Linked DNA regions of Homo sapiens: region 2 is linked to region 1. Evidence: promoter capture Hi-C in 16 types of primary human blood cells and fetal thymus (Javierre and others, 2016). All regions are on one chromosome and are shown on one strand. Each heading gives the region's core, a stretch centred on a gene start or on the middle of the fragment in contact. The rest is flanking DNA. Distances are from core to core; before and after follow the strand shown.

Region 1 (3,527 bases), core at 671-3,170:
TAATGCGTTTTTATTTTTTCTTATACAAAATAGAGATAATGTTGCTAACTTCATGGAATATTTGAGGAAATGATATGAAAGTGTCTGGACGTGCAGTAACCTCATGGGTTCTTCTCACTGTCTTATAAATGTAAATAAAGATCTAATATTAATTTGGTTATCTAATAACAACTTAATACATAGAACTTAGTAGACTGCATGGCCACATTCTATAATATGATCACTAAGAACTTAATGTAGGATTTTAATAGTCATGTTTTTCTTAATTGTGGCAGAATTTAAACCTTAATTTTGTGATCTTTTTTAGTTAGTTTGTTTTTTGTTTTCTTTTCTTTTTTTTTTTTTTTTTTTTTTGAGGCGGAGTCTCACTCTGTCGTCCAGGCTGGAGTGCAGTGGCACAATCTCAGCTCACCGCAACCTCCATCTCCCGAGTTCAAGCGATTCTTCTGCCTCAGCCTCCCAAGTAGTTGGGACTACAGGCATGCACCACCACGCCCAGCTAATTTTTGTAGTTTTAGTAGATACGGGATTTCACCATATTGGCCAGGCTGATCTCGAACTCCTGACCTTGTGATCCTCCCACCTTGGCCTCCCAAAGTGTTGGGATTATGGGCGTGAGCCACTGCACCTAACCTCTGTGATCTCTTAAATATATATGAAGTTTTATTTTTGAAACACCAAATTTCAAATGAAGCATAGGCATTTTGATCTATTTCAGTTAAATTTAACACAAAAGCAGTAAATTGTAGTGACTTCATTTTTTTCAACCACAAAATGAAGATAACAATGAACAAAGCTAAAGTAAAACTCAGAATTGAAAAAAGTCTCTGTGCATCAATAATAAATACTAACTCCAGCATGGCCAGTGAGCCTAGAGCCATTTAATGGATAGTGTTTGTCCTGTTGATTTAGCATGCATTGAAACAAGAAGCAAGAAGCAGATGAGCATCCGTGAAAGAAAAAGTACTGGGAAAGAGGCTTGGCTTCAAAATGAAAGGCCATGTGTCTCATAAATGAATTTTGCCAGCCTCTATTTATTGCATAAAAATTGCTGTAGATGATAATGGATTTGCTCTCTAGAGCTAAGATAAATAGATCTGGATTCTAACCTCATCAGGTTACTTGTTTTGAGACCCCCAGGTTCTTTACTCATCCTCCATCTTGATCAAATTTGTAGTGCCATATTTATTGTATGGCTTTACATTTTGATTTTAGTATTTGAACAAATTTCAGTGTTCAAGATTGCACATAGTAGGTGCTCCATAAACCCTTATTTAAGAATCTGGGACTACCTGGACATACTTCTACAGTATGCTGGGAGTATGGTTTCTCTTCAGGCCAAAGTGGAATTTTACTTGATGGTTTGTGTGGACGTTTAGAAATAACACTCAGAGCTGATATTTCTACAGATTTTCAAGTTTATCACTTTAATGGAAGTTTCTGGCTTCTTGTATTAAATATCCCCATAGTTTTCCTGATTAGTAAGAGGCCCCTCAGAGCAGGGTATACCTTATCATAGCCACCATTAAAAGTTCTTAGGACTTCATCTTTTGTCTCTCTACCATTCATTGCCTCTTCCCTCTTGAAGCTGAAAGGCTTTAGACACAAAAACAAAAAACATATTCTAGAAGTTGACAAAATTAAAGGTGTGCTGTAGTGGTGATCTGGCACGTTGTAATTGAGACTGAGGAGGTGAATGACTTACATGGAGGTCGATGGAGCTGAAGAGGGTCTCTAGGAAATGTCATAGTCAAGAGGTTTGTATGCAGAATGTGGGGGTTGAAGAGCTGTGCGGCTCCTGGTGAGAGGCACACTTATCTGGGATGCAGTCTGGGGAGTCCTGGCGAGGCAGCTTCCACCTGCTGGAGGAGGGGCCGGGGCGGAGCTAAGATGCGGAGGAGGGTGACGCACTAGCTCTCCAGTTCGCCCGTTCCTGGCCTGACCCCCACCAAGGCCCATACCGCAGTAGGCTCCTCGGGCTGCCCCTCGGTGAGTACAGTTTTGATGTCGGCTCGGCCGCCTGCCGCCAACCCGAGATTTGGTATTGCCAGTTGTGGGAGGGCGTCCTGCTAAAATCCTTGAGGTGGAGGCTGGGGTCAGACGAAGGATGCGTAGGGGATTAGAATGTTTGGCTATCAGTAAGGGGAAGGGAGTACTGAGGGAGGAGATTGTGTAGTTCATCAAATCAGAGCGGCGTTTGCTGGGATGACATCCTGCATTCAGAGTGGACAAGGGAAAGATGGAGATGGAGAGCCTCGTGTCTGCCTCCAGCCTTTTCCATCAGAATTGCAGATTTTGCTGTTAAACAGCTACTCTCAGCTCTTTGGAGAGCAAGGTTTTATATCTAGTGGCTAGAAAAGGCCTTTTCTTTGCAGAAAAAGAAATTGGAGGGTATAAAAATTTTTGTTTCAGTAAAGGAAATGCACGATTTTGCCTCCTCCCACCTCTCCATCCCCCATCCTCAGTAGAAGAATGATTAGAAGGAGGGTTTGCGCCGGTCCTGGTGGCTCACGCCTGTAATCCTAGCGCTTTGGGAGGCTGAGGGGAGGGGGTGGATCACCTGAGGTCAGGAGTTCGAGACCAGCCTGACCAATATGGTGAAACCCTGCCTCTATTAAAAATACAAAAATTAGCCGGGTTTGGTTGTGGGCGCCTGTAATTCCAGCTACTCGGGAGGCTGAGGCAGGAGAATCACTTGAACCTGGGAGGTGGAGGTTGCAGTGAGTCGAGATGGCGCCACTGCACTCCAGCCTGGGCAACAAGAGTGAAACTCCGTCTCAAAAAAAAAAAAAAAAAAAAAAAAAAAGGGTTTGCAAGGCCGCTGCCTGAAGCATGCATCCAAACACGTTAAGCAGCTGTGGGGTAAGCTGCAAGGATAATGTTCACTTGTTTTGCAGACATACCCATAGAAACCAACATTTTGGACAGGTTGACCCTCCCACCCCCAGGCTAGTTAACTCCCTCTCACCACCACTGCCTCCCCATATTCTAACCTCCAGAACTGTTAAGGCAATGTTAGCAACATAATAATAGCAATATAGGGGCTCATTCTGTGCCTGGCATTGTCCTAAACACTCTTAACATGTATTTGCACACACCCTCACAACAACCCTAAAAGGTAAATGCTTTAATTATCTCCGTTTTGCAGAGGAGGAAACTGAGGGACTTGCCTACGATCACTCAGCATGTGGCTGAGCAAACAAACCTCAAACTACCCCAGCAGATTGCAGGGCTGGATCTAAGGAACATTTTCCTTCCTTTCAGGATCGCAAACGTATTGGATGTTTGCTAAACTGAAATGTTTCCCTGCCACCACTCCCAACCTTCCTGAGCTTCTTGATTTGTGTCTTCCTGACTCCCTCCTGTTAGACTTTTATTCCCAGAGACTGGGAAAACCCAAGATGCCACTATCTCTTTCTCAAAATGTAAGCAAGTTTGGTTTATTTGTTTTAGTAAGAGAGGGAGAGAGTGATGAAGTTAGGAGTAATGCAGAACTTTCAGGGAGCTACAAGGAGGATAAAAATTAT
Region 2 (3,527 bases), core at 1-2,500, 580 kb after region 1:
ATTTATTTTATAGTTTTTAAATGAGAAATGGCATGTGTTATGTTTGTTGATGACATATCATAGTTTAATTAGCAGTCATTTTTCTTAGTGGCACATATAATGTTGCATTTTATACTTAGTGGCATTTTAGCTTCTAGAAACACACTTTTTTTTTTTTTTTTTTTGAGACGGAGTCTCACTTTGTTGCCCAGGCTGGAATGCAGTGGTATGATCTCAGCTCACTGTAACCTCCAACTCCCAGGTTCAAGTGATTCTCCTGCCTCAGTCTCCTGAGTAGCTGGGACTACAGGCACACGCCACCACGCCTGGCTAATTTTTGTATTTTTTGGTAGAGACGGGGTTTCACCATATTGGCCAGGCTTGTCTCGAACTCCTGACCTCAAGTGATCTACCCACCTCAGCCTCCCAAAGTGCTGGGATTACAGGTGTGAGCCACTGCACCTGGCCAGGAAAACAATTCTTAACTCTGAGTCTCTGGCTCTTCCTCCATGAAATGAGGGTAATGAAGGGACCTGGGGAATAGGGTCATTGCAAAGATTAAGTAAGATAATGTGTGTAAGATATTTAGCAGCTTCTCAAGGCTGTCTGCCTTTCTTGGTCCATGGCCAAGAGGCTGGCTTCTTTCTTCAAAGCCAGCACTTGTATCACTCAAATCTCTGCTTCTGTTGTCATACCTTCTTAAACTCCGATTCTCCTTTCCCCTTTGTGATCACACTGGGCTCACCTGGAAAATTCAAGGGACTCTCACCATCTTAAAATCATTAATCACCTCTGCAGAGGCCCACAGGAGGGAACATATTCACATGTTCTGGATTCTATGTTGTCACATTTGCAATGGACTGAATGTGTTCCCTCTAAAATTCCTATGTTAAGACTCTAATCTCACTGTGATGGTATTTGTGTGTGGGGCTTTGGGGAGGTAATTAGTTCATGAAGGCAGAGCCCTTGAGGATTAGTGCCCTTATAAGAACAGGCCAGAGAGCCAGCCAGCTCTTTCCTCTGTGTGAGGATACAAGTTAGCAGCCTGCAACCCAGAAGAGGGCTCTCACCTTAACTCAACCCTGCTGGCACCCTGATCTTGTATTTCCAATCTCCAGAACCGTGAAAAATAAATATTTGATAGTTTATGGTATTTTATTATGGCTGCCTGGGCTGACAACATCTTTGGGGGGGCTGTTATTCAGCCTACCATGTCGGGAAAGGGGCAATTTGTAGCTTTACCCTGATTTCTATATTCTCTCCACGTAGTGGGAAGAACCCAATATATTAAAGAGACTGTTATAATCAATGTAAGGTAGGTAGGAGCAAATACAGACCCAGTTGGAATTCAAGGCTGAAGATGCCAAAGCAGCTACAAATATGAAAAAATAATCAGGAAGGGTGGCTTCATATTAAGGTCCACTTTTTCTTCCTACATAGAAGGAATTTTCCCAATTTGGAAATAACTCTCCCCAGTTCTCTCTTGTCTTTATATAAGGAGTCTGGAGGTTACCAAAAGTGCTTTCAGAGCAGTGGTTTGCAGCCTTGGCTGTACATTGGAATTAAGGCAGGAGAAAAGGGAATTAGGGTAACCAAAGATTAAGGCATAAGCAAAAGAACAGCAGGTGCAGGCAGTTCTAGCCAAGATTGGGCAGCATACAAGCCACATCCTCCTTCCTGTGATAACAAGACAGAAGTTTCCACTTCAGACTCTGATTGGCCTCAGGTCAATTTTTCATAGACTGCCACCAGTTGGAGGCCTCTAGAGGGCACCTAGGGGTATTGCCAAGTTCTTTTGGCTTTATAAATACCCTGGGGAGCATTGCAATAGGGAGGCTCTTGAGCCACTTGCTCAAGTCTGCTCCCACTCTGTTAATCGTACTTTTGCATCTTCAATAAATTTATGCCTTTATTACTCTACTCTTTTATTTTGTCTTTTGTTGCTTCTTTTGTTGCTTTGTTTGTGCATTTTGTTCAATTCTTTGTTCAATACGCCAAGAACCTGGAAAACTCACAGTCAAGACGTTCTATCTAGTGATGGAATCACCTGGAGGAGCTTTTCAAAGATACCAATACCCCTAAATAAAATCAAGATATCTGGAGTTGGGGCCCAGGCATGAATATTTTAAACTGTCCCTGGGTGATTCTGATGTGTTACTAGGGTTGAGAATCAGCTATAAAGGAAGTAACAGGATTCCTCTTCCGGAGGCCCACAAAATTTTCTCTCTCTCTCTCTTGCAAATACTTCACTTTGTTCTGAGTATTTCTGGGAATCAATGGTTTTGAAGGTTTAAACATTTAGAAGGTTTACCCTTGGGGAGCCCTCAGGACTATCTTGTACTTTCTCTTCTTCCGCAGTCGTGTCAATACCTAATCCACTGGAGACCAAAGTTTATTGATTCTTTTAAACTCTTTCTTGCATACCAGATATAAGTGGATAATAAATAAAGTTTCTTGAACAACTAGTAATCAAGTAAGCTGCTGTAAGACTTTCTCTGCTGGGATAATGAACTCCAAATAATCGAAGGATCAATTTACCTCTAGCCTCTCCCCCAGGCAATTAAGATATTTAAAGCCTGAGGGCACATTTTAATTTCCGTCTTTTACCTTTCCTCAGTTAGAAGGCCCTTCCTCCTCCATCTCCATGAGTTGAAATCATATCTCTTGGTCAATTCCTGTATCAAATGACACCTCTCCCATTAGCTCCTTTTTGTTCATCTTTTTCCTTTGAGCCTTTTTGTATTATCTTGATGACACTTCCCTCATGCTTCTTTGCATTTGTTAGTACTTTCCTTTTTCCTTGTGAATAGAATATAAACTCTTTTGAAGTAGGATTATATAATAAAATATACAATCCTCTCATGCCTATTTTTCCTAGCAAAGTAATGCAGGTGAAGGGACATAAAAATTCCTAATGGACATTTTCTCTTTTAAGATTGATCACTGGTGATCTTCCCAGTAGGATAAAACCTTGGGGAGAAGATGAGTTTTCCATTACATGAGAAGTCACTGGAAGACTATATTTCAGGCCCATTGTTGACTTATAAATTCTCTAGATTAGAAATACTCAGACCATGCCTGGAGAGACAGGTGAATCTTTCAGCATCCAAACCTTAGATTCATCTCTTATTTCCAGACTACAGTACTGACTGTGGACTGTGTAGGGTGTAAACTGTCAGGGGGTTTTGTTTAAAGTTGACTGTAAATGTAGTTCCAGGTTTAGCTGACCTGGAAGGTAGGAAATCTCCTAACCACCTACATTTTCAGCAGAGAAATTCTAGCAAAGGCAAGGATTCATATCCAGGAAATCTATTTCCTTGCCCATCAGACTCTCTTAGACTTTCCCCATCCACCACACGGCCCTAGCCCTCGCCCTCGCCCCATCTTTCCACCCCTGAACTCCTAAGAACTGCTGAAAGACACTGCTATAGCTCTCTCCACTCTTCTGTGTCTGCTCAGTGGGGCTGATAAATTCAGGATCTGAAAATCCTTAAGTTAGATTCAGACTTCACCAATCTACTGAAAAACCCTCCAAAAGAAAAATAAAT

The links. Contacts are between HindIII fragments. The CHiCAGO score rates a contact against its expected background, and 5 or more counts as called.
Region 2: a fragment that was not itself captured here is called in contact with the fragment with the promoter of SCG5 in region 1 in 3 of 17 cell types (M0 macrophages, monocytes and fetal thymus); the score reaches 5.6 in M0 macrophages.

Annotation. Positions count from the first base shown.
Region 1 is chr15:32,639,790-32,643,316 of GRCh38, forward strand. SCG5 (secretogranin V) reads left to right here and starts at 1,921. Exons shown (of 6, transcript NM_001144757.3): 1 at 1,921-1,989. The region is part of intron 9 of ARHGAP11A-SCG5 (ARHGAP11A-SCG5 readthrough); the gene reads left to right. It overlaps ARHGAP11A (Rho GTPase activating protein 11A), which reads left to right. Exons shown (of 12, transcript NM_014783.6): 12 at 1-152. RefSeq lists enhancers at 1,414-2,054, 2,055-2,693. The HindIII fragment of the contact is 7,166 bases long and covers 1-3,527 here.
Region 2 is chr15:33,225,055-33,228,581 of GRCh38, forward strand. No RefSeq gene overlaps it. Among named protein-coding and RNA genes, the nearest start is that of FMN1, 32 kb to the left of the region's middle. RefSeq lists an enhancer at 1,674-1,723. The HindIII fragment of the contact is 7,416 bases long and covers 1-3,527 here.